Regions from separate parts of the Homo sapiens genome. Here all the other regions are linked to region 4. The links are contacts of gene promoters, found by promoter capture Hi-C in blood cells and fetal thymus (Javierre and others, 2016). All regions are on one chromosome and are shown on one strand. Each heading gives the region's core, a stretch centred on a gene start or on the middle of the fragment in contact. The rest is flanking DNA. Distances are from core to core; before and after follow the strand shown.

Evidence for each region. Contacts are between HindIII fragments. The CHiCAGO score rates a contact against its expected background, and 5 or more counts as called.
Region 1: the fragment with the promoter of SETMAR here is called in contact with the fragment with the promoter of EGOT in region 4 in 13 of 17 cell types (neutrophils, naive B cells, total B cells and 10 more); the score reaches 13.7 in neutrophils.
Region 2: a fragment that was not itself captured here is called in contact with the fragment with the promoter of EGOT in region 4 in 1 of 17 cell types (activated CD4 T cells); the score reaches 5.1 in activated CD4 T cells.
Region 3: a fragment that was not itself captured here is called in contact with the fragment with the promoter of EGOT in region 4 in 1 of 17 cell types (total B cells); the score reaches 5.0 in total B cells.
Region 5: a contact is called between a fragment that was not itself captured here and the fragment with the promoter of EGOT in region 4, in 4 of 17 cell types (total B cells, naive B cells, naive CD8 T cells and 1 more). The highest score is 6.8, in total B cells.
Region 6: a contact is called between a fragment that was not itself captured here and the fragment with the promoter of EGOT in region 4, in 3 of 17 cell types (naive B cells, total B cells and activated CD4 T cells). The highest score is 10.0, in naive B cells.
Region 7: a fragment that was not itself captured here is called in contact with the fragment with the promoter of EGOT in region 4 in 4 of 17 cell types (total CD8 T cells, activated CD4 T cells, endothelial precursors and 1 more); the score reaches 7.1 in total CD8 T cells.

Annotation. Positions count from the first base shown.
Region 1 is chr3:4,302,061-4,304,760 of GRCh38, reverse strand. SETMAR (SET and mariner transposase domain methyltransferase) reads right to left here and starts at 1,392. Exons shown (of 3, transcript NM_006515.4): 1 at 1,235-1,392. The coding sequence starts at 1,390. It also overlaps a transcript of SUMF1 not described here. RefSeq lists enhancers at 955-1,024, 1,053-1,795 and a silencer at 1,115-1,454. The HindIII fragment of the contact is 4,274 bases long and covers 1-2,607 here.
Region 2 is chr3:5,243,344-5,246,043 of GRCh38, reverse strand. No RefSeq gene overlaps it. Among named protein-coding and RNA genes, the nearest start is that of MIR4790, 5.6 kb to the left of the region's middle. The HindIII fragment of the contact is 7,686 bases long and covers 1-2,700 here.
Region 3 is chr3:4,399,157-4,401,856 of GRCh38, reverse strand. All of the region lies in intron 7 of SUMF1 (sulfatase modifying factor 1), which reads left to right. Among named protein-coding and RNA genes, the nearest start is that of SUMF1, 67 kb to the left of the region's middle. RefSeq lists a silencer at 1,998-2,292. The HindIII fragment of the contact is 2,792 bases long and covers 1-2,684 here.
Region 4 is chr3:4,750,254-4,752,953 of GRCh38, reverse strand. EGOT (eosinophil granule ontogeny transcript) reads left to right here and starts at 1,364. Exons shown (of 2, transcript NR_004428.1): 1 at 1,364-2,008. All of the region lies in intron 44 of ITPR1 (inositol 1,4,5-trisphosphate receptor type 1), which reads right to left. The HindIII fragment of the contact is 1,839 bases long and covers 352-2,190 here.
Region 5 is chr3:4,337,016-4,339,715 of GRCh38, reverse strand. It overlaps a transcript of SUMF1 not described here. Among named protein-coding and RNA genes, the nearest start is that of SETMAR, 35 kb to the right of the region's middle. The HindIII fragment of the contact is 7,610 bases long and covers 1-2,700 here.
Region 6 is chr3:4,373,639-4,376,338 of GRCh38, reverse strand. SUMF1 (sulfatase modifying factor 1) reads left to right here. Exons shown (of 9, transcript NM_182760.4): 8 at 1-9. Among named protein-coding and RNA genes, the nearest start is that of SETMAR, 72 kb to the right of the region's middle. RefSeq lists enhancers at 1-182, 183-683. The HindIII fragment of the contact is 1,078 bases long and covers 712-1,789 here.
Region 7 is chr3:5,166,290-5,168,989 of GRCh38, reverse strand. All of the region lies in intron 1 of ARL8B (ARF like GTPase 8B), which reads right to left. Among named protein-coding and RNA genes, the nearest start is that of EDEM1, 20 kb to the left of the region's middle. The HindIII fragment of the contact is 503 bases long and covers 1,080-1,582 here.

The DNA of each region.
Region 1 (2,700 bases), core at 143-2,642, 450 kb after region 4:
TTCTTTTCCTTGACATCTTTGAAAGCTGCTATTGAATCTCTTATCTTATCTGATCCTCACAAAAACCCCTAGGAAAAAGAAAGGGCAGATAGGGTTCATTGTTGATAATGGATGTTAAAGGGGCTATGCATTTTTAAATTATTATTTTCATTTTGCAGATGAAGAAACTCAGGCTCTGGGAAGTAGCTAAGATGTCTAAGCTCCGAACCATACTCTCCAACTTCCACGTCCAGCGCTCTTTCCACTTCAAAATCTTTGGTCATTCCTTATTCCTTGGGTAACGCTCAGGCCAAGGTCGGAGGGATAAGAAAGTCAGTAGAGGCTGGGAGCGTGGCTCATGCCTGTAATCCCAGCATTTTGGGAGGCCGAGGCGGGCGGATCACCTGAGGTTGGGAGTTCGAGACCAGCCTGACCAACATGGAGAAACCCTGTCTCTACTAAAAATACAAAAATTAGCCGGGCGTGGTGGCCCATGCCTGTAATCCCAGCTACTCGGGAGGCTGAGGCAGGAGAATCGCTTGAACCCGGGAGGTGGAGGTTGCGGTGGGCCGAGATCGCGCCAGTGCACTCCAGCCTGGGCGACAGAGCGAGACTCAGTCTCAAAAAGAAAAAGGAGAGTAGAAAGGGCTTTGAGGTAGTTAATAGAAGCAAACATTTACTGAGTTCTTACAGCAAACCGGAAAGTGTATTTTCCTTGCCATTTTCAAAGCACTCCGGAAGAGAGGTACTGTTCCACTGTACGCTGGAAGACTCTAAGGCTGAGCCACAGCTAATTTACACTCGCCCAAGAGCCCACAGCGTGAGGGAGACCACAGCTAAGGCTGACTCGAGGGGCTGTTTTTATGCACGACACCGGCTGCGATCCATTAATAGGCCCCACGGCTTATCCTACCTGTGAGAGACACCTGAGACCAGGGAGGTAAATGACTCCCCCCGTGATGCCTCCTTGAGTTCTGAGGACAGGACTGGACAAAAAGCCAGGTTCTCACAAGGCCTCCGGTTCTGCGCTTCAGGGAATGGACTGAAAAGGACAACACCCTTGCTAAGGTGATGCCGTGGGTCAACAGAAAAAGGCCCAGGCCGGGGCATGCACACCTATTCCCGCGCACCAACGGGTGCGCTGTAAGAGAAGACAAAAGGTCGCGACTGGGAGGCCGTCCCAGCGAGGCGGCTTGAGGAGACCACGTGGGGGAGCCGCGCGCCCGCCTCCCGCGCCGCCTGGCCCCGCCCCTACCTGGAAGGGCGCCGGCGCGGCCCCCGGGGGCCACGCGCCCACCGGCAAGTTTTCCTGGCCGCACGCGACATCCAGCTGCTCAGTCGGGGCCTCAGGCTTCTCCTTAAACTCCGCCATCCCACAAGGCCGTGTCGTCTTTGCCGCTTCCGCGAACATTTACCCGCCTCACGCAACGCCCACTACCCTGACAGTCCTGGGCCGCGCGGTGGATGCTGGGACTTGTGGTCCCGTGGCCCCACCGCCTCATGGGAATTGTAGTTCGTTTCTTCTCAGGAGTGGCCTGGAAGGCGCTTCCCTTCCTTGACTTTTTGGGTCTGGCTCCCGTTTTGATTTCAGCCAGAGGCACCACAGATAATTACAAAACCATGTAAGGTACGGACGAAACAAAGTGAGGTGCTTTAGTTTTTCCTGGGAGCATCAGAGAGGGGGCTTTCGAGGTGAGGTCATTTGTCCAGGTTTTTGAGGGCTCACTGCACGTTTGTGGAGTGGAGGCAGGGGTGCGTTCTAAACCGAGCGGGGAAACGCACACCAAGGTTTCTAAAGGTCTGCGGCTTGCCGGGAAGTTGACTGACATGTGATAGGGTTTGTGCCAAGGCGATAGCCTCACAGGGTGCCTTAAGGAATTTGTGTGGGGGCATGCTCACTCCCTGATGGAGGTATCCGTGCCCCTTTGCCTGTCCTTTTCCCTCCTCTCCATCCCTCTACCCTCACCCCTCCAAACCCCTGCCCTGCCAAAGGATTCTGATAGCCTCAAGACTGCTGAATCCGGTGGAGCATTTTCAACCTCACTGAAGCTCTCTGACATGATTGTCCTGCTTCTCCTTGAAACTGTAAACCAAAAATAAAATTCCAATCCTCCAAACCATCTGAAGGGACCCCTCCTCTCTGCCAAGGTTAACCTGAGAAAGTGGTTCAGGCCATGATGGGAAGGGGGGTCCAACATGCCTCATTATGCCCTTCTTCCTTTTGGAATTCAGGAAAAGCCAGCCAGCATCAACATCAACACACACCTTAAGTCTGATAAGAAACATTTACAATCTGTTCTCTGAAATTTACCTCTTGGAGGCTTCATCTCCACGATCAAATTTGGTATCCACAACCTCTTATTGCAACCCAGACATTCGTTTCTATTGATTTTAGGTCTTTAGATAATAACCAGTTGCCAATCAGAAAATCTTTAAATCTACCTATGACCTGGAAGCCACCCCTCACCCGCTTCTCGTTGTCTGCCTTTCCAGATCCAACCAATCTTACATGTATTGATTGATGTATTATGTCTCCCTAAAATGTGTGAGAGTAAGCTGTATCCCAACCACCTTGGGCACATGTCATCAGGACTGCCTGAGGCTATGTTGGGGGCGCATTCTTAAGCTTGGGAAAATAAACTTTCTAAATTGAGACCTGTCTCAGATAATTTTGGGTTCACAAACCCTTCTGACCTTGCAGCTTCTGAGGTCCCATTGGCC
Region 2 (2,700 bases), core at 59-2,558, 490 kb before region 4:
GGAGAGGCCAGGTGAAAACTCTCTGAGTCACCCAGGTCCAGGCACACAATATGTGCAGGAATTAACCCTCAGGGGATTCCAGCCCCCTGAGGTTGTGTTACCACCAACTTTTGAGTCTTCCCAAATGAGGATCCCCAACCACCCAGAGCACAGACAAGCTGTCCCCAAATGGGTATACCCTATCTGATCTCCTGACCCACAGAATCCATGAGCACAAGTCACTAAGTGCTGGAGTAACTTAGTGCCCCGCCATTATACCTGGAACAAGAGGACAGAAAACCACCTGACCTAGGAACACGGTGAAGGCCAATAAATTCTATCAAATTCTATCAAAGCCCAGAGAACTCAGTGATATAAGCAAGGCCCACTGTCTTATCCTAAAATCTACCAGATTTGGACTCTCTCTCTGTCTGGCCTACACAGTACGTTGAGCCCATTTGATCTTATCAAACAGAAATTACAGAACAGAAAGAATCAGCAACCAGCAAAGATGGCCTTACTCTTATTATTGCCTATCAGAGATGATGCTAAGCTATACCAGACACTACTCCTACCCTCAGGGAAAGGTTGAGATTCTTCAATAGTCTGAACATTCCTGGGCCTCAGGGCTTGCATAGTGCACTTAGCAATGGGGACAGGAGAGAACTTCTTGCAGTACATCCCCCAAAGAGATGGGTAATCTGATAACTCTTAATGCTTTTCCCTGGGCAGAAATGCTGAGGCCATGGTGCTATCCCAGCACAATTTTCTTTTTTTTTTTTTTAATTTATTATACTTTAAGTTCTGGAATACATGTGCAGAATGTGCAGGTTTGTTACATAGGTATACACGTGCCATGGTGGTTTGCTGCACCCATCAACCTGTCATCTACATTAGGTGTTTCTCCTAATGCTATCCTTCCCCTGTCCCCTAACATCCCAACAGGCCCTGGTGTGTGATATTCCCCTCCCTGTGTCCATGTGTTCTCATTGTTCAACTCTCACTTATGAGTGAGAACATACAGTGTTTGGTTTTCTGTTCCTGTGTTAGTTTGCTGAGAATGATGGTTTCCAGCTTCATCCATGTCCCTGCAAAGGACATGAACTCATCCTTTTGTATGGCTGCATAGTATTCCATGGTGTATATGTGCCACATTTTCTTAATCCAGTCTATCATTGATGGATATTTGGGTTGGTTCCAAGTCTTTGCTATTGTGAATAGTGCCACAATAAACATATATGTGCATGTGTCTTTATAGTAGAACTATTTATAATCCTTTGGGTATATACCCAGTAATGGGATTGCTGGGTCAAATGGCATTTCTGGTTCTAGATCCTTGAGGAACTGCCACACTGTCTTCCACATGGTTAAACTAGTTTACACTCCCACCAACAGTGTAAAAGCATTCCTATTTCCCCACATCTTCTCCAGCATCTGTTGTTTCCTGACGTTCTAATGATTGCCATTCTAACTGTCATGAGATGGTATCTCATTGCTATTTTGATTTGCATTTCTCTAATGACCAGTGATGATGAGCTTTTTTTCATGTTTGTTGGCCACATAAATGCCTTCTTTTGAGAAGCGTCTGTTCATATCTTTTGCCCACTTTTTAATGGGGTTGTTTTTTTTTTTCTTGTGAATTTGTTTAAGTTCCTTGTAGATTCTGGATATTAGCCCTTTGTCAGATGGATAGATTGCAAAAATTTTCTCCCATTCTGCAGGTTGTCTGTTCACTCTAATGATAGTTTCTTTTGCTGTGCAGAAGTTCTTTAGTTTAATTAGATCCGATTTCTCAATTTTGGCTTTTGTTGCCATTGCTTTTGGTGTTTTAGTCATAAAGTCTTTGCCCATGCCTCTGTCCTGAATGGTATTGCCTAGGTTTTCTTCTAGGGTTTTTATGGTTTTAGGTGTTATGTTTAAGTCTTTCATCCATTTTGAGTTAATTTTTGTATAAGGTGTAAGGAAGTGGTCCAGTGTCAGTTTTCTACACATGGCTAACCAGTTTTCCCAACACCATTGATTAAATTGGGAATCCTTTCCCCACTGCTTATTTTTGTCAGGTTTGTCAAAGATCAGATGGTTGTAGATGTGTGGTGTTATTTCTGAGGCCTCTGTTCTGTTCCATTGGTCCATATATTTGTTTTGGTACCAGTACCATGCTGTTTTGGTTACTGTAGCTTTATAGTGTAGTTTGAAGGCAGGTAACGTGATGCCTTCAGCTTTGTTCTTTTTGCTTAGGATTGTCTTGGCTATATGTAGGCTAACACAACTTTCTTAAGCCTTATTTGGAATAGAAAAGATAAGCTCTCCCTACTATGTAGGAGAACATGTATCAGAAGCAAGTGTGATTTTTAAATCAAGAAGTGTTCAGTAGAGGGTTTGCAAACATTATGTATACTCTTCCTTTATACAGATAGATATGCAGCCCATCTCTGGGAAAGGACACAGAAACCTTTGGGAGACTCCATGAAAGGACTGTTAGAAAATGACCATAGTCGCTGTCGCTCTCGCTCTCGTTCTCGCTCTCGCTTTCCCTCTCCCTCTCCCCACGGTCTCCCTCTCCCTCTTCCCACGGTCTCCCTCTCCCTCTCTCTCCACAGTCTCCCTCTGATGCCGAGCCAAAGCTGGACTGTACTGCTGCCATCTCGGCTCACTGCAACCTCCCCGCCTGATTCTCCTGCCTCAGCCTGCCGAGTGCCTGCGATTGCAGGCACGCGCCGC
Region 3 (2,700 bases), core at 39-2,538, 350 kb after region 4:
GGAAGGGAGAGCCATATGCTATAAGATTGGGATGGCAGCAGTTCAGCAGGATGGGTTGGGCTTATCACAGAACCATTAAAAGAAAAGAGCAGAGAGTTTGCTAGTGTGGTTATTTGTCATTCTCAGTAAAGTTCTTTCTGCTGTGCTGAATAACAGAGCCATGGTTAAGTGATGAAAGTGAGGTCAGTCGCCTGGGTTTCCATCTGAGATTTAGCTTTAAAATGTCGTGGGGCCCTAGGTGAGTCATGTCACCCTTGTAGGCTTAGTGCTTCATCTGTAAGTTGTGCTGAGGATGTAGCAAGCCATTCCCACGGGTACAGTAAATCCGGGGAACTGCCCTTGGGTCTGCTGCTTGCTTGGAAAGTAGGCAGTGATGGAGGCTGCAGCTGACAGTAACATGGTTAAGAGGGTGTTTTTAAAATGATTTCCACCGAGTGTAAACTAGTTCAACCATTGTGGAAGACAGTGTGGCAATTCCTCAAGGATCTAGAACTAGAAATACCATTTGACCCAGCGATCCCATTACTGGGTATATACCCAAAGGCTTATAAATCATGCTACTATAAAGACATATGCACACGTATGTTTATTGTGGCACTATTCACAAGAGCAAAGACTTGGAACCAACCCAAATGTCCATCAGTGATAAACTAGATTAAGAAAATGTGGCACATATACACCATGGAATACTGTGCAGCCATGAAAAATGATGAGTTCATGTCCTTTGTAGGGACATGGATGAAGCTGGAAACCATCATTCTTAGCAAACTATCACAAGGACAGAAAACCAGACACCTCATGTTCTCACTCATGGGTGGGAGTTGAACAATGAGAACACTTGGACACCGGGTGAGGAACATCACACACCAGGGCCTGTTGTGGGGTGGGGGGAGGGGGGAGGGATAGCATTAGGAGAAATACCTAATGTAAATGACAAGTTAATGGATGCAGCACACCAACATGGCACATGTATACATATGTAACAAAACTGCACGTTGTGCACATGTACCCTAGAACTTAAAGTATAATAAAAATAAAATAAAATGATTTCCATCTAGGTCCACATCCCAGCTCTGCTATCTTGGGGCCAGGGGGTGAAATCCTTTGCTTCTGTTTCCTTGTCTATAAAATGGAGTAATAGTAAGATTCAACAATATTGAACTGTTCTGAGGATTAAAAAGAGAGGTTAACTCACTGTGCCCACCACACAGCAAGCACTTGGTAAATGAGAGCAGATTACGGTTTCTAAGCGCCTCTTGGTTGGAACATCTCCCTTTGGAAAATCCTTTCCCCTTCAGCATTGCCTCTTGTTGTTTAGTAGACCAGATTATGTTATTTTTCTTTCATTTGTTTAATAGCATTTTTGAGCACCTGCTGTGTGATAGTGGCAAACATAAACATCACGCAGTCCTTGCCTCCAGAGAATTTGAATCTCAGAATTCCTAATGGTGGTTTCTTATCATTTCCATGGTAATAGGCACTTTTGCTCCACTGATGCTTAGGAAGCCAGAACCAAAGCCCGGGTTTTTTGGATTTCTTTCAATCAAAAGATTGTTTATTCCTTTCCTATACTTTTCTTCACCTGGAAAGGCCATGGGGAAATTTCAGGGTGAGGGCTTGAAAGCCTGTCTTTCTTGGCTCCCTTAGTTGCATCCACAGCTGGCAGGCCATGTCTGAGCAGCTTTTCTGGGCAGAGGAGGGGTACTCTGGGAATTCAGGTAGAATTCGGCCCCCAGTTTGGGTCGGTTGCTTGAGGAATTTTATCTCTTGTCTTGGTGTGGTTTGAGGTATGAATCGAGAACAGAAATTTAGGCTCTCGGCTGGGTGCAGTGGCTCACGCCTGTAATCCCAGCATCTTGGGAAGGTGAAGTGGGCGGATCACGTAGCCTGGCTAACATGGTGAAACTCCATCCCTACTAAAACATACAAAAATTAGCTGGGTGTGGTGGCACGGGCCTGTAGTCCCAGCTACTTGGGAGGCTAAGGCACAAGAATCACTTGAACCTAGGAGGCAGAGGTTACAGTGAGCCGAGATCGCGCTACTGCACTTCAGGCTAGATGGCAGAGCGAGACTCTGTCTCAAAAAAAGAAAAACAAGAAAAGAAAAGAAAGGAAATTTACGCACTGTTTTGAGGGCCAGACTCTGCCAGAGTTGGCATCCTGTCTTCCACTTCCGTGGGCCTTCCTTTCCATCTTTTTCATGACCTGGGCTCTCCCTGGACAGATTGTTTTTTCTTGGCAGTGAATTACAGTTAACCCTAAATGTTCCCGCACTGTCTCAGCCTGTGATTGCTGCTTAATATTTTCAGATAGGGCTCTGTCTCATCACTCTTGGCTGTAAGCAAAGATTAATAAACATATATATTCCAACTCAATAATTCTCTTCTTTACATTTTCTCACATAGAGTAGTCCATGTTCATAAAGAGTTTTCCCACAGTACTCCTGAGTCATCACAAATGGTTTGGGGGGGAAGAGTGGTCTCCGTCAACTTAAAGATGGCCCCCAAGCCCTTCCCCACTGTAGCTTTATAGATTTTTAGGGTGAAATGTGTTTCGGGTTAAAAGAAGATATATGCCTCAGACCCTGCATCCCTGTATAATATAGTCCTGACTTTACTCCAGACTGCTGTGCTTCTGGGGTGAACAAAACGAGGAGTGAGGAGTAAAGTCAATGTCTTAAAGCTTTGCATTTGTATGGGA
Region 4 (2,700 bases), core at 115-2,614:
TGATGATGAGCTGATTTCCTAGCTCTGTCTCCCACAAGACTGTAAGCTCCTGGAGGGCAGGGGCTATGTTGGTCTCATCCCTGACTGTATTGACGCCAATGTGTATAGCACCTGACACCCAGGGAGTGCTCAGTAAGTAAACATCTGCTATATTAAGCCGGCTGTGGTGACACAAGCCAGTAGTTCTAGCTACTCCGGAGGCTGAGACAGAAAGATCTCTTCAGCCCAGGAGTTCAAGGCCAGCTTGGTCAACACAGTAAGGCCTCTTCTCTCTTTTTAAAAAATTTACTATATTAATGAATGAACAATAATCCTGAAGGAGGTGCAATTCCGAAACACTCAAGCCAAGCTTTGCATCCATGGCAGCTGAAGTATAACTTTATGGCCAGAAGAAGCCTGCATGTGAAAGCTCAAAGTCCTGCTAAGTGGGAATATGCAGCACACCGCAGACCAGCCAAAGGCAGCTGATGTGGTGTTGTCACCTCTACGGGCTTATCCGGTTTTTGCACGTAACTCTGTGATGGGCTCAGCCTGGCTGAGGATCCTTAATCCATCGAGTTAACTGTTAACTACCCCGGCCCCAGTGACACAGCAGCTTGCATGATTAACTACAGCCCGGGAGGGATGATCATTTGTGCACCTTCCGTCTCCAAACCTGGCTCCCTCCCCAGACTTGATAGCTACAAGCTCTGGGCTCAACAGTTTGTGGGTTTGTGTTGCAAGGAGGCTAATAAAAACATATTTCTCAAATACCATATGGTGAGGGCAACTGCAACACATCCTCCTCGAAGAGCAATAAAATATATATATTTTTAAAGTCCTGAATTCCAGGGGAAAAACGAGGCTTGAAGACTTCAGAGGGTTTACAGGACTATCCCCTTCAGTGTCAGAGCCATCTTGATCAAAAGTCTAAAACCCAGGAATAGGAAATTGGTAGAAACTTTGAGAGAGCCTCTGACAGTTTCAAAGAGGAACTCAGAGGACCTCAGGAAATGTGAGCGGGCATAGATTTCTCCGTGAAAAGGAGGGTCAAGGCAGAAGAACCAGAGGCAACTGTGAACATCAAGTCAGTTCTCAGGGAAGCAGGGGATCCAAGTGTGTACATGAGGCGCCTTCACTGTCCCTGCATCAGGAATCTAGCTGTTGGCACCTTATAATGAGAAAACAGTCTCAACCATGAAGTTAACTCTGCTGGAAGATTTCCAAAGGGAAAGTCCCTCCCGTTACTCAGAGGGGAAAAAAAAATTACCTACTTGGTCTGGAATCCGGGGATATTTTATGCAGATGTCTCTAACAGAAGTTAATAAAGGGAAGTCAGCTTGCCTCTGATTATTCAAACAGGCTACTGCTATTAAGGATTGCACAACTTCTGGGCAAGGCAGAGGTGGGTTTGGCTTTTTAAAAATTTTTTCAGCCTGTCCTCATGGAACTACATATTCTTTTCTAAGAACTTTTCATCCTAACCTCCCTACTCACATCTTCTAAGTGTCTCTGCTCTGGTGGGAATGTGATGGACAACACAGAGCCATCTCAGAAGCCTCTGTGGCCACCACCAGGCCGGCCAGGGTGCAGGGGGCCACTCCCTGGGCAGCCATAGGGTTCTCAGCAAGGTGCATTCGTCGTCCCTGCTGAGAATCTGATGGGGCAGCATTTTTTTTTTTAATTAAATGCAAGCTGAGTCATTTCAACCTGCAACCTTCAGGTAACAGGAGTTACCCAAGCTCCAGGAATTATGATTGTGGGGTAAACCCATTCTCTTGTTTTCTTGCGGTTCTATTTTATAACGCACTAGAGGAGACAGAGACGTCATTGCTTCACCCAGGGCAAGAGGACAAAGGAGGATGCATGGAAATACAAACAGCCCTTCTCCTCCAGGCCATACCGACTGTCCAACTAGCAACAGACTTCACCTGGTTTTGGAGCAATCTGAATTTGGAATATGCCAGAGAAAACTTCTATCAGGCAAGATGGAAGACTCCTAGGATAGGTCTCTCTCATGGAGGGATTGGTAATAAAAAAATCATGGGAAAAGAAATAAGGGAGGGTGGAAAAAACACACCTTAGAAAACAACTTCTGATGTCCCGGGGCTACACAATGGGGGAGCTGAGCACTTAGGAAGGAGAGGGAAAATATTCTGTTTCCGGAGACAGCTCCAAGAATCATGAGTAGGTGTGAGAAACAAGGAAGCTTACAGATTTAAAAAAAAAAAGAAAGAAAGAAAGGAAGGGGGCAAAAGGAAGGAGTCAGGGAAGGGGGGAGTGAGATCTTTGAGAGACAGGGGAATTAAAAAACACCATAGCAACAACGCAGTCCACCTACCCTGGCCGCCCACCCACAGCCAGATTCTTTACTGACGCATTTGAGAACAAGCTGGTTCCTACCAGCTCAGGAAGGTGAGCAAACCCAGAGAGCTCATTAAATCCCTTCTCAGCGACTCTTGTCTGCCTGCAGATAGTGAGCAAGGAGGATATAAATAGAAGTTATATAACATCTCTTTGTTGATTCCTGTGCTTACCAAAAAAAAATGCAGCATGACCTTGTTTTTCTTTAGAGTTTGCCTCGGCCTGCTGGTTGAGGACTTTAATCCAGATAGGAATCATCTTGAAGTTTAAACAGCAGGATATAGATTTCCAAGTTAAGGGTGCTCTGCATGGCCATCCAAGTTAGGAACCCACAGGGTCAAGTCCTCCTCCGCGGAT
Region 5 (2,700 bases), core at 57-2,556, 410 kb after region 4:
GCATTGCCCAGATGTCCTAGAAGGACTGAAAGATGTATTCATCTAATTGCTGAGAGTGCTATCAGCCTTCCTACCCAAGACCTCTTTCCAGGGGGCAGTCTACATCCACTGACTGGTTGATGCAGAAATCTAAAGACCCTGTCCGCAGCTACAACAGACTGGTTGATGCAGAAATCTAAAGACCCTGTCCGCAGCTACAACATGGAGCCACCCTAAAAAGCTGCCTTGGCTTCAGAGCTACCTGCGGGTTGGCTGAGGTCTTCGTTGAGATTTCATTGCAGCCCAACTCCTCCTTTGCCCAGCCTGCTTCCTTTCCTTCCATTCCACAGGTGGGAATCCTAGCAGCAGCTCTTGATCTTCCTGTGCTCCAATTTTCCTCCCAGAGACTGCTTCCTTGGGTACCCCCTGAGCTGTGGGGCATACCTCACAAGGAAAATGGGACAAGTTGAGACTTTAAAGAGGATGGGGAAGAAGTCAATCAGTGATGAAGGGAGGGGCGGAAGGATTGGACATGGGAGGTGTCCCAAGAGAGGAAAGCAGCATGAGTGAAACATAGCCTAAGGCCCATTAGGAACAGGAGAGCCACAGAAATGGGCTACGTCACAGAATGAGGAGGGAGTAGTGGGATATTGCTGAGGAAGTAGTTTGTGGAAGGTATTAAGGTCCCCAAATAAAGAGTTTGAACTTGGTTGGAAAGTTAACGTCAGGCTCATCACACTAACATTAGTTGGCTCAGTCAGCAATACCCATTCAGCACTGGCGAGGCTCTGGTGAGCAAAGACAGACCTGGTCCCAGTCCGCCAGGATCTTACAGTCTCATAGAGTAGCTAGACATAACTCAATCACACGAATGCCAAATTTGCACACACACACTAAATTATAGGGGCTCAAAGACCCAATGAAAGACTCTGTGTACTAGGTATACATATGTACTAGGTATACCTGTGAGAGACTCTGTACTAGGTATACATATGAGACTCTACGTACTAGATATACATAGGTACTAGGTAGACCTAGTACATAGACTCTGTCATTCAAATTTTGTTTTGGTTTTTCCCTTATGAGACCATGAATTCTTTGAGAATGAAAATTGCTTTGCGTCCTGATTTCTCCAGAATGTAACAGTAGATGCTCGAAAACATTGGTTGAATGAATTATGAGCTCAGGGACTCAACTTCCCACCACTTAGCATGTACTAGATTCTTGACAAACGTTTGTGAATGAATGAATGAATTGTTTTGGTGTCAAGGTGGTTCAACCAGAACTACTTCCAAAGTGCTGATAAGGTGTCATGTTGTTCATAAAGCCACACTGACTTTATTTTAAGAACTGCTGAGAGATTTTAAGAGACCTTCCCTGTGTCAAGATGCCTTTTCTTTTTGAATGGATGACGATAGTAAATATTACTTTAAAGTATCTTTTTTTTTTTTCTTTTTAATAAAGAGACAGGGTCTCACTTTGTCTGCCAGGCTGGAGTGCATGGTGTGATTGTAGCTCCCTGCAGATTGTAGCTCCCAGAGACTGGGCTCAAGCCATCCTCCGCCTGCTTCACCTTCCTGAGTAGTGAGGATTATAGGGATGCACCACTGTGCCAAGCTCTAAAATATTCTTACTACTCAAAATAGTCAATAATTTAGTTGTCAAAATTAATTTTTGAACTAGTCAAAAATTTGGAAGCAATTTCTGCAAAGCAAGTTGGGATAGAGGGGAGGCCTGGTGTCTGTTGAAGATAAAGGATTAATCTTTGAGCTGCCCTTGATTTTTTATCCTTGAAAAAGTTGAGGATGTCTATGATTGGGGGTTTACTGGGAGGGAGGTGAGGTGATTACTGAGAGGAAAGGGAAACAAGGTTATTTTCAAGAGTTGGGTAGGAGATACAGATTGGCAAGAAAACACTTCCAAAATAAGCAACAAAAACAAACCCACTTTGTAAAACTGTTTGAGGGCAGATGAAAATTTTAATTGAAGAGATGCAATTATGTTCAATGCAGGATAGGAGAAATGGGTTTTAGATTTGTTTGAAAGCACTTTTCTGTATCCACCTACTATGCACAAATGCTTTGATGTAGTGGCAAGTTAGGAAAGAGGAGGGAAGTGGTCAAGGGATGGAGGGAGGGTAGAGTGTGGGCTGCTCAGGTAGGTACCATGGTGAGCAGAGGTTGTGGGCATGTGGGGTTGGAATTAGTGGGATTAGCAGTTTGTAACTGGCTGCCCTTATAAATCCGGGAGCATTAAATATGTCTGGACGAGAGGACTAACAAAAGTTGGCAAAGTGATACATGGTAGAGATGGTCATCCAGTAATGAAGTAATTTGTGTTTTCCCAGGGGTGTAGCAGTGAGGATGAGGCTGGGCAGCTGGCTGCAGGAAGATGAATGACAAGGGGACAGTAGGGTGATGGAGGTGATGGATAGCTGGTTGACAGCAAACAGGAAGAAACAAAAGGAGGGGGAGTGAGGGAGAGAGGGAAGGAGGGAAGGAAGTAAGGAAGGAAGGAAGGAAGAAAGGAGGGAGGGAGGGAGGGAGGGAGGGACAGAAAAGAGACAGAGAAATAGAACATATTGCTGGCTCTCTTGTTGTTTTAGCTGCCTAGTGGCTATGTAAACAAGAATCATAAGAGATGGAATATGGGAAATGCCAGCAATATCTAAAAGAGAAACCAGGACAAAGAAAATCCAGAGTGTTTTGCAAAGAAGGCAAG
Region 6 (2,700 bases), core at 1-2,500, 380 kb after region 4:
TGCCATAGGGTAAGTCATGTCACTAAACTGTTTTGCCGTTCTTGTTCTGATAGCAGTTTTATGGATCCATTGTAAATGATAGCCCCAAATGTCTCATTCACTTCTGCAAATGCCTACCTAACCCCACTGAAACCAGAAAAAAAGGAGGACAGTCATCTCAAATTTGGTTACAAGCATGGAGAAAAGTAACACAAGTAACAAAGGTTGTGAATGACCTATTGTCAACCAAATTTCATCTATTGAATCTTGCCCCTTTGAGAGACCTTTGTTGTCCCACGAACTGCACAGGGGTGGGTGTATATAACTTTTCCAGCATGTAAGTCTGAAAGCACACCCTTAATTTATTTGAGAATCCTGTACATTTCTGGATTTTCTGTTGAGATTCAGGTGAGAGTTATGTATGGAGGGCAGATTGTGATATACTGAAATGGAAGCATCCCGTGTTCTAGGTACAAAGTGTGCCTTGTGAAATAAGCATCATTCCCAGAGAGTGTTTCTTCTCTTTGGGCTATGATTTTAGTGTCTGAGCTGGCTTTCTTCATCAGTTAGAGTGACTTGGTGTTTCCTAAATAACCTTTATAAGGAATTTGGAAATAGAATACCATCCCTTCCCTTTTTTCTTTGAGTCATATATTTTTCACGTCTCCTGAACTCCAGCTTTCTATCCCTGTGCAGAGATGGCATTTTGCAGATTGTTATTGCCTCAAAGCTTCCCCTAGGAATTTATTCAGTCCAGGTGGTTAGAGACTTAAAACCACCTATAATGGCTCCAAATTAAGTTACTAATTTGATAATGATGGCATTATCAAATTTTGTCTTAAACAGTGGTTCTCAAACTTTATTCCACATTGTAATCATCTGGGATCTATATAAAATACTGATGTCTGGCTCCTCACTCACCCCCATTCTGATTTGATTTTTCTTCAGTGTGAGCTGGGCATTGCATTTTTTAAAGCTCTCCAGGTGATGAAAACATACAGCCAAGTTCGGGAATCACTAGCCTAAAGCAAATCTCTCTAGATTTTATGTATATATGTGAGTTTGTATGTATGTGTATCTTCTGTATTTCTTAGAATTTTTAATCCAGTGATTCAGGTTGAAGTTCATAGAGCAGAGCTCAATTGATGCTTTAGACCTACATTGGTAATAAGATGTAGACCAATTTATTTTCATGAAATCTTTTTTTTTTTTTTTTTTTTTTTTTGAGACAGAGTCTCACTCTTCACCCAGACTGAGGTGCAGTGGCACAATCACAGCTCACTACAGCCCCGACCTCCTGGGCTCAAGCGATCCTCCCATCTCAGCCTCCTAAGTAACTTGGCTAATTTTTAAATTTTTTTTAGAGATGGGGTCTTGCCATGTTGCCTAGGCTGGTCTTGAACATTTGGGCTCAGGAAATTCTTCCTGCCTTTGCTTCCCAAAGTGTTGGGATTACAGGCATCAGCCACTGTGCCCGGCCTAAAATCCTAGTTTTAATTTTAAATTAAAAGCATTGTCCCAGGTCTTCCCAATATATTTACATGTTCACGTATACATCAGAGTCTTTAATCCCAGATTGCTTCTCTATTTGAAGTTATTGCTACAAATGTACCTGGATCTTCTTGCCAGGAAACCAGACTTCCATGGAAAACAGGTGAATCTCTCTTTGTACAGTAGTATCTCAAAATCCTAATTGTCACCAGTTATGTCTCTGGCATATGGCACTTTTCTAAATTCAGAATCCATTTACTTTCTAAGTAATTGAGGACCAGAAGATTTTTCATCAAGAATAAATGGGGTAACAGAAGCTTGTAAAAAACATTTTAAGCAAGTAAAGGACATTAACTGTCCTAATTCCATGCGTATGAATGTATCTACTTTCATGTTTTATAACTTTTAGCTTATTTGTAATCTACATTTTTATAAGCTTCCCAGTAGATTCTTTAAAAATATCTTTTAAACTCCTACATACTTTATTAAGTACACTTACATGGTACTGATTTTTTATGTTCATCTTGAGTCTTGCAACCTTGCAAAACTCATTTATTAGTTCTAGTAATGTTTTTGTAAATTGTATCATATTTTCTACATAGCTGATCATATGATCTGTGAATATCGACAGTTCTTCCTTTTTAATCTAGATCCCTTTTATAACTTTTTCTTGCTGTATGTCATTGGCTAGAACCTTCAGTATAGGGTTGAATAGGAATGGTAAGAGTAGACCTTCATACCTCATTCTTGATCTTAGGGAATAAACATTCAGTTTTTCAAAATTGGATATGTATTAGCAATAGCTTTTTCATAGATGCATGCCCTTTACAGCTTGAGAAAGTTTTTTTCCATTGCTAATTTTTTAGAGTTTTTTATCAGCAATGGATGTAGATTTTGCTGGGAGCTTTTTCTGCATCTATTGAGATGATAATATGATTTTGCTTTTTCTATCTGTTCATATGGTGAATTACATTGATTTTCAAATATTAAGCTATCCTTGCATTCCTGGGATATGTATCATTCCACTTAGTCATGATGTATTATCTTTTTTATACATTTTTGGATTTGATTTGCAAAAATTATGAGTATTTTTGAATCTAGTTTATTCTGTGTTTTCTTGTAATGTCTTTATCTGATTTTGGTTTCAGGGTATTGCTGACTTCATAGATTGAGTTGTTAAATATTAACTTATTTTAAATTTTTTTGCAAGAGTTTATGTAGAATTAGTGT
Region 7 (2,700 bases), core at 82-2,581, 420 kb before region 4:
TGATTATATTTTTCTTAAATATTTTCATTGTAATTATATTTATTGTGATAGGCTTTAATCTCTGAGGAGAGATCTACGTGAGATAATGCTCATTTATTTCATATCATTAAGTGTTTTACATAATGAAGAGGCAGGAAAAATAGTAGCTAAAATTTTTAGGTACCAAACTTTACAACTAGCTTGCATGGAAAGCTTTCTAAAAGGCAATATACACTTGGCTAACTTCCCACAAACAACCTATAGAACATGATTTAATGTGTTCTCAATGTTTCTGGGTCAGTTTATCTATTGCAAAACAAGAAAACTAAATTAGATAACACTCAAGGGCCCTCCCTATTGGAGGTAAAGTTTTATGATTATGAACATCAACTACAGCACTTCATAATAAAATAATGTAGGGGGCTGCAGTATACTGGGGTACCCCCGAGCTTTCTCAGGGGTTCATTTATCTCTTTTCTTTACCTTGGCCAACCCTAACAACTTTCCTGTAACTCAGCTGCTACTGCTAACATGCAAAAACCGAAAATTAGCTAATCAAGTCCTTGAGTTTTTACTCCAAAATTCTTGAGTAGAGCAAGATATTCAATAAATATTTGTTGAACAAACTAAGAGTTATTAGGGCCAGGCATAGTGGCTCAAGCTTGTAATTCCAGCACTTTGGGAGGCTGAGACAGGCAGGTTGCTGCGGCCCAGGAGTTCAAGACTAGCCTGGGTGACACGGCAAAACCTTCTCTCTACAAATACAAAAATTAGCCAGGCATGGTTATATGCACCTGTAGTCCCAGCTACTAGGGAGGCTGAGGTGGGAGGATTGCTTGAGCCTGGGAGGTGGAGGTTGAGATCTTAAGAACGATATGACTTTAAGACAAGATTGTGCCACTGTACTCCAGCCTAGACAATAGAGTGAGAGCATGTCTCAAAAAAAACATAGGCCATGAAGGAGGAAAATGCTGGAACTCTTCTGCCAATAAAGTGCTTAACTTTGATGCATGAATTTTGTGCAATAATTACTTTATGGACCTGGAAGTATTTTCTACTTCTTTCCTAGTGTCCAATCTTAATCATCACTTTTCAAAGCTTGTGTTGAACAACTATAACCACTCAGTTGGCAACTGGGCACTAGATACCTGAGAATTTATGTCTGAGCTGTCAAGAAGCTGCTTAATTAAGACTACAGGTTTGGGAAACAGATGTTTAGAAAATACTACTTAGTAGTATATCATTCTACTTATTTTAACAAATTTAACAAACACGTAATACTAAGCACTTAACATTCATCAGCATAGTTTAATCCTTATAACAACCCAATGAAATGAGTAGCATTATCTTCATTTCTCAGATGAGAAAAACAAGGCAAAGTCAGCTTAAGTCACTTGCCTAAAGTCACATTGTTCTTAAGATCTGGATAATTATGAGTTAATCTGACTTGGGGGGGAAAGAGTAGAAAAATAAAAGTAAGTAGTCCCTCCTTATCCTTGGGGGATACGTTCCAAGAACCCCAGTGGATGCCTGACATCACAGATAGAACCTAACCCTATGTACACTATGTTTTTCCCAATACATACATACCTATGATAAAGCTTAATTTATAAATTAGGCACAGTACTCTTCTGCTTTAGAGTCATTATTATTTCAGAGGTTGATCATAGGTAACTGAAACTGGAAAGCAAAACCATGGATAAGAGGGACTACTGTATGCTTTCATGCCTGCCTTCTTAAATGCCATGATCACACGTGGCACTCGCTGTGATTCTGTGATGGCAGATGGAGCTGTCACTGTCATAATGCTTACCCTCCTATAAGCCAAAGTTGCAAGGCAGTGTACCTGGAACTTGGTTGAACAAAATAAATCTGAAGCAAAATAAGATGGTGAAAAGAAGATTATTCTCAAAGTCAGGGAATCTTATTAACAATTATGCTACTTACTAACTAGATGCAAGTCATGTGACCTTGGGATTCAGCTTCCTTATCTAGAAAAAGGAAATTGGAAGAGTATCTCCAGTCACTTCCAGCCCTAACGTTTATGGTTTTATGTTCTATTCATAGGCCGTTCATTTAAAATACAGGTAAGCAAGGAGATGAATGCTACAACAGCAGAAAAATGTGGCTTTTCCCAAATTCATTAGCATACCAAAGGCTAAAGCAGACCTTGTCCTAGAAAGTTCTATCAGTGCCAACACTCCACTTTGCAGCACTTACCTACATTTTCTACTAGAGATCTCAGAAATGAGACAAATGGAAAATGGTGAAGAACGTACAGACAGCAACCAAAGTTAACAGCAGGAAGACTGAAGACATGAGGCGGTGAACCTCCAGTAATGAAAGGACACTTTACTAAAGATATCTTAAGACAGCTGGGCGCGGTGGCTCACACCTGTAATCCCAGCACTTTGGGAGGCCAAGGCAGGTGGATTGCCTGAGCTCAGGAGTTCAAGACCAGTCTGGGCAACATGGTGAAACCCTGCCTCTACTAAAATATAAAAAATTAGCCAGGCATGGTGGGGCTTGCCTGTAGTCCCAGCTACTCCGGAAGCTGATGCAATCGCTTGAACCCAGGAGGCGGAGGTTGCAGTGAGCTGAGATGGCACCACTGCACTCCAGCCTGGGCCACAGAGCATTACCAAAAAAAAAAAAAAAAAAACGAAAGATACCAGCCAGGCGCAGCAGCTCACACCTGTACTCCCAGCACTTTGGGAGGCC